2 separate regions of the Homo sapiens genome follow, and region 1 is linked to region 2. Evidence: promoter capture Hi-C in human tissues and cell types (Jung and others, 2019). All regions are on one chromosome and are shown on one strand. The core of a region is centred on a gene start or on the middle of the fragment in contact, and the rest is flanking DNA. Distances in the headings are between cores, read along the strand shown. Region 1 has its middle 70 kb from the start of PIEZO2. Region 2 holds the start of PIEZO2 (piezo type mechanosensitive ion channel component 2).

Region 1 (4,965 bases), core at 1,479-3,978, 70 kb before region 2:
GGCTATTCTTTTTCTTTTACATTTTCATATAAACTTTAAATTCATTTTATCAATATCCACAAAATAGCTTGCTGGAATTTTAATTCCTATTGCCTTGAATCCACAGATCCTGTGGGACAGAATTAACCTCTTAACTATATTGAGAATTCAAATTCATGAGCATGGAATATATCTCCATTTAATTAAATCCTCTTTAATTTCTTTTATCAGACTTTTATATTTTATGTATATAGATCCTGTACATATTTTAGTAGGTTTGTACTTAAGAATTTTATTTTTTGAGCAGTTGTAACTGGTTTATTGCTTTAATTTCAAACTGCAATTGTTCATTGCTGGTATATAGGAAAACAATTGACTTTCGTATATTAACCTTGTATTCTGCAACTATGCTAAGATTGCTTATTAGTTCCAGAAGATTTCTTTGGTCAATTGTTTGTGATTTTCTACTTAGTTAATCATGCCATCTTTGAACAAAGGCAATTTATTTTTTCCTCCCCAATCTGCTTACTTTTTATTACCTTTTCTTGTCACTATTGCACTAGTGAGGGCTTCCAGTATGATGTTAAGTAGGTGTGGTGAAAGGGTCATCCTAGCTTAGCTCCTGATCTTTTCAGGAAAGCATTTGGTTGCTTGACATTAAGTATGATTTTAGCTGTAGATTTTTTGGCAGACATTCTTTTTCAAGTTGAGGAAGCTACCCTCTACTCCTAGTTTTCTGAGAGTTTTTATCGTTAAAGGGGGTTGGATTTTGTCAAATATTTTTTTCTGCATCAGTTATCTTCTTGCTATAATAGATTATATTAATTGATTTTTAAATGTTGAACCAGACTTACGTACTTGGAATAAATCTCACTTGGTTGTGGTACGTACATTTTATTTTGTTTTATTTTTTCAGACAGAGTCTCGCTCTGTTGCCTAGGCTGGAGTGCAGTGGCGCAATTGCTGCCCACTGCAACCTCTGCCTCCCAGCTTCAAGCAGTTCTCCTGCCTTGGCCTCCCAAGTAGCTGGGTTTACAGGCACGAACCACATACCACACCTGGCTGGTATGTACCTTTTAAAGATACATTGTTGAATTTGATTTGTTAAAATTTTATTGAGTTTTATTTACATCAATGTTCATGAGAGAGTTATGGTAAAGATAACTAAAGTTATTAAATTTTGGTGAAAAGGGGAAAATAAAATAAAAGTACACTCATGCATTGCTTAACAACAGGGCTGTGTTCTGAAAACTGTGACATCAGGCAATTTCATCATTGTGCCAACATCATAGGGTGTGTTTTTACAAACCCAGATGGCAGAACTTACTACACACAGGTTACACAGTGTAGCCTACTGTCCAAGGCAACAAACCTGTACAACATATGACTATACTGAATACTGTAAGCAAAATATGTAAGTAAAAATATGCTCTTACATTCTTGTGGGATCCCTTTCGTATATGTTGTCTGTCATTGACCGAAATGTCCTTATGTAATGCATGACTGTGTTTAAAGAGAAGGACATTTAAATAGTCTTGGGAAATAGGTAAGTAAGAGATTAACAGATGCACCAAATGCTATTTTATTATATTTTCAACATTTTTTTCTTTTCTTTTTCTCTTTGAGGTTCCACACATCCATCTATGTAGGTAACTAGCTAAAATTGATATGCTATATTCCAGTTCTAGTCTCTACACAATTGTCACAAATCCTAATGCTCTTAATCACCCATCTCCTGGCATGTGGCCTAGTCACAGGACTCAGCCCATTCCCCTAAAGCCTGGTCTTGTTTAAAGGAGTCTTGTATCTGATTGTGTCTCACATGAGCTAGCAGAGTGTTCTTCAGCTCATTATCACTGACATGCTTCCTTATGTCCTTGCCTGTTGCCTGCAAAGCTGTTTAAAGGAGCCTGCTGCTTCTTTGGAGGATACCAAAGTCCCCAACATTTGAGTTTTGCCTACTCATGCTCCCAAGCCCCTATTGTGAATTGCAAGATCATATTGGGGTCTATGCAGAAATGTAAAAATGACACTATCTCAAACTCTGGCCCAGTTCTTCACCTAGATGCCAAAGGAGTTCTACTTGTGTTCAATGTCAGAAAGCATCTTCTGGAAAGAACTGATCCTCCTAAAGATTTAAACTCAGTCCATGAGACTAGACAAGGAGGGATGACACACCATCTCTCGGCTCTCCAAGGCCTCTGATTCTTACCTATGAACACCTCATTGGAGTGAGATATTCCCCTCTCCAACAGGTTTTGGTCACTGTGCAGTCTCAGTCCTTACCTAGAAAAGATTTTACCTAAAATGCTAAAGCTTAATCCAAAGGTTTATTCTCAGGTTCTTAAAGATTTGCATGAGGATGTTCTAATTTTTGTTTAAGCTTTGATTATGATCTAAATTCAATGGTATATACTTAATCTGGACAAACACCTTAAAAATAAATACAGATGTTTAACTTCAGAGCCTGGGTTAGCATTTCTGTGAAGATTATGTTTGATCAGAGAAAGCTAAGTTGTACCAAGGAAGACTTCACAATATTTCAAAAAAAAATGTAACAAAAATTGAGTCATTACCCAGAACGCTAGCTTCTTAGTTTATTTAATGGAAAAGAGTCTGAGCTACAGAGGTCAGCAACCTAATGATTTGGCTATGGAGACAGTGTATTGATTGATTGTGTCTTCTTAAATACCAACTTGGAGTTTATTCCCAGTAAGTGTAGCTGTAATTATGTAATGAAGAATGTTTTTCTGTTTACAATTCTAGAGATAATTAAATGCAGATTTCAAAAATTCCACAATGCTGTCTTTTAAAAATAGTTTTCCTCAACAATAAGAACTAATCTATGTACAAATATTTCATTTGATTCTGGGAACAATTTATGAAGCAGTTTGTTCTCTTAGTTTATGGACAAAGAAATAGGGAGAACTGCTTTTCAAGATCACGTGGGTGGCAAGGGAACAGTGGTCCTGAATCTTTCTTGTTTAGCAGAATCATATTCCTCATGATGCCTCCACGGTTTCCAAGGATGTTCCTGGTTTTCTTTCATTTAACATTTGCATAAACTTTTACAAGAATTTCTCATGATACATTTAAAAATATATAACTGCGTATGTGATTAGCCATGATTTCGTGGATCACTAACTTGCACAGTGTCTTTCAGTCTCTGCCAACATCAGATTCAGCTGAGAGAAGAGGTCACCCAGCCATGTCCCCAGAGGCCCCGTCCTTCCAAGACGTCTGTCCTCTGTTCCTTTGAGAAGCTGAAAACAGCACAAGAATGCCAAAGGGATATGGATTCCTCTTTAGTACTTCATAATACGCAGGCTACCTGCTATTCCTTGTCTCTTATTTCTTCCAGGGAAAAACTCTGCTGCTTTGCTTAATGAAGTCAAACTATAATTTGAGAGTGGGGGGAAAATACAGTCAATACAGTCTAAAGAAATGTATAAGAATGAAAAAGACTTTGGTGAGATTTTCCCCATTGATGTGTATTTATTTGTATTGTATTATGAATTTGATGAGAGGTTTGAAAAGGCAACTCCTTATTTCATGGATTTAGAAAAACATTTTTTGTTAATTCATATCTTAATGTGGAATGTTTTTCCTTTGAACTGAATAACCCAGTTTGTTGATCACAGGATGATCTAGTCTAAGGGCCTGTGATATGGTTGGCAAGATGTTGGGTAATTGATCTTTCTCCCCGTTCCCCAGCACAGACCTCAGGGATGTGTTTGGACCTGGAGAGGCTGAGAGTGCTGGATGGTAGCAAGAATATAGTGCACTGTGTAAGTCTAAGATGAGTGAGGCACATCTGGCCCAGGTGAATGCATCTTCGGCATGTAACCACGTGGGGCTAATCCAAAACAGATGATTTGAAGAGGATTATATTGAGTTTGTCAGTCACAGACACAAGAAGCAAGAGTGATATGGTGAACCTGACCCCAGAAGACCTCAGTTCTAATTTAGATTCTGCCAATTGTGAGCCATGGGCAAAGAAATAGGGAGATCTGCTTTCCAAGGTCACATGGGTGGCAAAAGACCAGTGTACATAATTCAACCCCTCACTTTCTTACCCAGACCTACACCTCTTCCTGACTCACCCCCAAAACCCTGTTTTCTTCCAGGCATCCACACTTGAAACCTTGGATCACTCTGTACTCTCCTGTGTACGTCAGTGCCATCATCCAATCAGTTTCCAATACAGTTACATCATCTCCCCACCCCTCCTGCCTTTCACTACCTCACAAATTGGAAATAACCAATGAGATAGTACATTTGAAAGTATCCAATTACTTCAAAATAATTAGAAAAACAAAACATCAAAGTCAGAAAACAGAATAAGGCTCTACAAAGTTGCATTCAACAAATCAGAATCATTTCATCCTTTCAGATATTTGTATATGTACCAGATAGTGCTTATAATCAATATTGTTTTTGAATTATTAATAGTTTCTTTACCCATGTAACATGTGAATACAATTCACTTTGATGCAAGGTTTCAGCATTAAAGACAAGACTCATATTCCTTTTCAGAACCTCAAGTTGCAGCCCTCTGCCCACTCATCAGAAGTGACCGTGAAATCCTGCTGCACCTTCTACATCCTTTTACAAGCAGAGGTGCCCCCTCGGGAAAGATTCAGTATCAATTTGTGTTTATAAACTTATTATCCTCAAGTTATAAATCACATTCTCGCCTGTAATCCCAGCACTTTGGGAGGCCGAGGCGGGCGGATCACGAGGTCAGGAGATCGAGACCATCCCGGCTAAAACGGTGAAACCCCGTCTCTACTAAAAATACAAAAAATTAACCAGGCGTGGTGGCAGGCGCCTGTAGTCCCAGCTACTTGGGAGGCTGAGGCAGGAGAATGGCGTGAACCCGGGAGGCAGAGCTTGCAGTGAGCCGAGATCCCGCCACTGCACTCCAGCCTGGGCGACAGAGCGAGACTCCGTCTCAAAAAAAAAAAAAAAAAAAAAAAAATCACA
Region 2 (4,856 bases), core at 1,424-3,923:
TAATTGTTTGATAAATGTAGAATTAGTTCTTGTTTTTCAACAACAATAATAACAACAATAATAGGAATAATAGCAGCCAATATTCATTGAATGATTACTATGCACCAGGCATTTCTCTAAGAACTCTATAAACTGTCTCTATCTGTGTAGACTCCATATTGGGTAGGTTTTACTGCTTTCCTTAACTTACAGATGAAGAAGCTGAGGCACTAAAAGTCTCAATAATGATCAAAAGAAGTCATTGTTTGTCATTGTGGATGCAGAGAGGCATAGGGTGTCTGGTGCTTAATTCATTACCGGGGTAAACTGGTGATTATACACATCAGGTACCCATGAAATATCAAAATAATATGTCCATGAGTATTTTACATGTTTGATTTCTCCCCAAAGCATTTTTAAACTCACATACTCTTTCAAATTTTAGACAAGATTCTGGCAAACTTTGGAATAAAGTTTGCCAGGCAAGCAGAGCTCCCGAACAGTGATCAATACCCTCATGGGCTGGTGAGTCCTTAAAAACTAACCTGTCTAGACACCAGATACTGCTTCTATGAGAGCAGGGAAAATTGAGGGTTAAACAGCCCTTGTAAAAACAATGCCACTGCTATGGATATGTATGCTCAAGTCAAGTCCATTGTGAAAGAAAATACAGCTTCAGAAAGGTGGATGAGGTTTGGAGATGCTGGTTTTGAAAGCCAATGGACTATTTTCTGAGTCTGATATGAAAATGAGGACAGCGGTCTTCACCCCTGACTGCATACTTAAGAATCACTTGAGAGCTTTAAGAAAAATACAGGTGTGGGGGCCCCATCGCAGACCAATTAAATCAGGATTTCAGGGAGTGTGGAGACTGAGCGTTTTTCAAAAGCTCCCCAGGTGACTGCAACATGTAGCCAGCATGGAGAAGCCTATTTCAGATGTAGTCTAGACCGCTGAAACTTCCCCTTGAGTACATACGTTGGAAGTCTCAGAACTGGGATGTAGTTGTTAAAATCTCTAACGCCCCAGCAGCCAAGTTGGTACACACTGTGGCAGAGAAAGCTCGAAGTTTATTTGGTAAGACCACCCACCTGCTGGGAATCTTGTGCCTCCCAGCTTATGTTATTTTGAAAGAGAATTATTGTGAAAAAGTCTAGACAGTTGTTAGTATGGGAAGCCTATCAAGAACATAAGAAAGTATTCAGAGAATACAGAATTCATGTGATGACACAGTATTATTTAAAATTCAGGAGTCCTTCACCTATTAGCTCCCAAGAATGAGTCGTACATGGGGTGAGGTGGGGAGGGCATGGATGTGAAGGCAGACTTATGAACATCAAAATTAGTGGTAGATTTATATCAGGCTTCTACAAACAGGCTACACAAACCATTTCTTGATAGCATTTCTTGGTGACTGGATGCTAATTTAAGTTCTATCGTCTCCTGTAGGTCTGCTGTTGAGCTCATGACTACGCCCGGGTTTAGGTGCTATCTAAGCTTCTTGAGGATGGCAGAGCACATGGGTGGTTTAAGTTTCAGGGTGTCTTCACCATATGCCAACTGTCTTGAGTCTTCATTCAAAAAGCAATGGTTCATAGTTTTTCTGTAATTCTCAGAGAATTCGTGAAGGCACCTGAGCTCAAACCACAAGCTTACCCTGTCTCAAAAAAGGGATGTCCACAAAAGCGTTTCAAATGGCTAAAAAGACGGGGGTTTGCCTGTTTTTCATCAGCTCACTGCTCTATCCCCTCCAACTAATGCAAGCCAGGAATGTAGGTGCGGAAGGGAAGCCAGGTCCTTCCCAGTGTGTCCTCCTGATGGAATGCCAGTCCTGAACAGTCCTCTCTACAGATGCTAACAGCCTCTTCCTCCATGTCCGGAAAGACCCCTACTGTGCTCTAGCAAATCTCCTCCACTCTCGGATAACAGTTAAATAAAAGACCCAGGCACACTGCAGTCTCCCAGCTAGAGCCAGATTTCTCTAGATCTTGCCTAGAACAGGCAAAAAGCAGTGCACTAGGAGAAAGGGAGAATATTCTCAGTGCCAACGCTCTCTTTCCCCAGAGCCACGACAAGCAAGGAGCAAAACTGAGGTGAAAACGGAGAGTTCCCCCAAATGCACAAAGTGGGTGCATTATCTGTTGGGGAAGACCCGGGATTTCCCAGAGTCTATTCAGAATGGCAAGTTCTTGCTATGTGAAATATGGGCAGGGTCAACGGTGTAGATGAATTCAGCTCTATTCTTCTTAATGCCAGTGTGCACCTGTGGACCCAGCAGAAGTCGGGGTCGCACAGGACTCTCCAAGCCCCTGGCTTCTCTCCTGCCGGGCCTGTGCGTTTCCCTCGGACCTTAAACGGTTCCCTGGGTTTGGGCAAGCTCAGGGCCCGGCCGGGTGGACTGGATGCCAGGGTGCACCACCGGAATGACAGAACCACGCAGAGCCGCGGGGCTGCGGGAGCCAGTGGGGCAGGAGTGCCCGCGGAGGGCGAGCCAAGGCGCGCAGCCCACTGGCAGGCCAGGCCGGGTCTCTCCCAGGCGCGGGAGCCGCGGGTGGGGGCTTGCCCTCCGCGCCGGTGCAAGGCTCTCACTTCCCCAGCCGCTCAGGGGCGGGCTCCGCGCGCGCAGGCCCCGGAGCCGCCATCCCATTGGCCGGGGGACACGCCCGTCCCCGAGTGAGGGCTTCGAAAGTTTCATTGAAGGTGGAGAAGCGCGCGCCGCCGGGGAGCCCCGGCTGCGCCGCGAGGGCGAGGCTGCAAGGCGGCAGGCGGTGGTCGCGCTGGGCGACGGGACGGCGCTGGTTTTTCTCTTGAGTTTTAAATTGAGGCGGTGGAGGAGGGAGTGGGAGACCCACTCACCCGATATGCGCTCTGGTCTCCATTTCTCCCCACGCTCGCGCCGTTCCTTCGAGTGAGGGAGGGACTCGCAGCGCCGCCCGCGCACCGGACCCACAAGGCGAGCCCCGTGGTGGCGGGGATGGTTCTGCGCGCCTGGCAGCTCCCACCCCGGTCTCTCCGGCCCGAAGCTGGGGGGCGCAGGGGCTGAGCTGCGCTGCCTCTCGGGGATCCGCCGCGGGCCGCCTGGGGGCTGGAGGGCGAGACCCGGAGCCCGCCGGGCAGCTCCGAGAGCCGGGGCCGAGGCCAGAGCGCGGCAGCCTGCGTGGGCAGCGGAGACGAGGCCGGGCAAAGGAGACGCGGTGGCTTCAGAGGGGCTTCCAAGTAGAAAACTCCCCGGCCGCCCCCAAACGACGCCCCGGGAGCCAGGCGGGAGCACAGCACGCCCTTCTTGCCCCCTTTGCTCGCCGCGCCGCCTCCCAGGACCCTCCCAAAGCGTCCCTCTCCAAGGCCCCGGCATCAGCTACCCCTGAAGAAGCCGCCGCCGCTGCCGGATCCAGGATTCACACTAAATGGGCCGGCCGCAGGGGGCCGGGCGCCGGGCTAGGTGGCCGCCAAGAGCCTGGTGAGGGGCTACCCAGAGCCCGGTGGGCGAGGGGCGGCCAAGAGCCCCGGGAGCGTGCCCTCGGGGCGGAGAGCGTCGCGGCCCGCGCCGAGGCGATGCTCGGGTGGCTGCGAGCTGCCGGCGGCGAGAGGCCATAGACGGGCATGGGCCTTGCGTCCCACCACCCCTAGGGACCCTCGAGCCTCGCCCCTCTGCTCCGACTCGCCGGACCGACGCGATGGCCTCAGAAGTGGTGTGCGGGCTCATCTTCAGGCTGCTGCTGCCCATCTGCCTGGCAGTAGGTGAGTCTGGTCCGCTTTCCGAGGGCACTTGAGGAGGACGAGGGGGGCGCCTGGGTGGGGGACTTCTTAACAAAGTGAAGGGCTCTGGTGCTCTGGGGTTCGATTCGGGAGGCCAGCGGCGTCAGACGCGCGCTGTCCCTGGTGCACAGCCTGGCTCTCTCACTTCCCACTCTGGGGCGCGCGATCGGGGTATCTCTTAACAGGATGCTCGGGACGGGCATGTGCTGGAAACTGTTTATGTTGAATTTAGTTACACGTGGATTTTCTTTCGTGGAGTACTGACTTGTGTACTAAGGATGGCCATTGCTGTGGCTGGAAGGCGGATGCGTCCCCATCGTAGGTACAGTCAGGCTCCTACCTGAGCCCCTCGCCCCAGTGACCCTGCAAGCACAGCATGCTGTGCCTCCAGACGGCCCAGAGGCCATCTCTCCCAGACCCCAAATCCCAGCAACCGTGAAGGAAGAAGTGAAGGACTCCGGTCATTCAAAAAAGAAAAAGAGGGACGAGGTACAGGGAGACAGTGCCTTGACGTTTCTTACTTATTTTTTAAAACCTCCACAAAAGCCCCTACTACAAAAGTACTGGATGCTAAGGCTATAGACCCCCAACACCTAGTCCCGCCTCCCAGCGGCCGCCCTCTCCAGATTTTAAAGGGTTAGAAAGCAGGGTTGGAACTCCTTGGGACTGGCAAGGGCCCAGGGAGGACCGCAAGGGAGCCTCCTCGACGCCCAGACAAGCGTTGCACCGTTTCCCCAGGACTGGCCTGGCGTGCAAAGCAACTGGGTGCTGCGTTCTGGGAGTCGGACCGTTTCTGATCTTCTCCTCAAACAGGCAGTGCCTGTGACATTGAATTCCTCTCGTAAGAATGCCGGGCCCTGGTTCTTTGCTCTCCCTCTCACCAACAAGAGCTAGGAAGTAGAGCGCTTTTCACCAAGTAGTAACTGTATTTACAGAGGGCGTGGCCTTCGCAGAAAAGGCCACCTTTTTGCATCTTGACCGAGGTTGATGACTCTGCATCTTGACCGAGGTTGATCACACCTGTGTTAAATGTTTTCTTTGTGCAAGCAATCGAATGGGGGCTGTAGCGTGATTGGTGAGGGTCAGGACAGTTGCCGGGAGAGTTTTTGTAACACACTTCG

Evidence for each region. The method cuts DNA at HindIII sites, captures the fragments that hold promoters and counts their contacts. A contact is called where the count stands out against the background at its distance.
Region 1: a fragment that was not itself captured here is called in contact with the fragment with the promoter of PIEZO2 in region 2 in 2 of the 25 tissues and cell types used here (aorta and lymphoblastoid cells).

The regions. Positions count from the first base shown.
Region 1 is chr18:11,217,486-11,222,450 of GRCh38, reverse strand. No RefSeq gene overlaps it. Among named protein-coding and RNA genes, the nearest start is that of PIEZO2, 70 kb to the right of the region's middle. The HindIII fragment of the contact is 4,419 bases long and covers 519-4,937 here.
Region 2 is chr18:11,147,386-11,152,241 of GRCh38, reverse strand. It overlaps PIEZO2 (piezo type mechanosensitive ion channel component 2), which reads left to right and starts at 2,673. Exons shown (of 56, transcript NM_001378183.1): 1 at 2,673-3,717. The coding sequence starts at 3,654. LOC124904249 (a long non-coding RNA gene) reads left to right here and starts at 3,726. Exons shown (of 2, transcript XR_007066288.1): 1 at 3,726-4,856. RefSeq lists silencers at 2,321-2,770, 3,011-3,290, 3,311-3,490, 3,501-3,570 and enhancers at 3,264-4,102, 4,131-4,180. The HindIII fragment of the contact is 6,242 bases long and covers 1-4,856 here.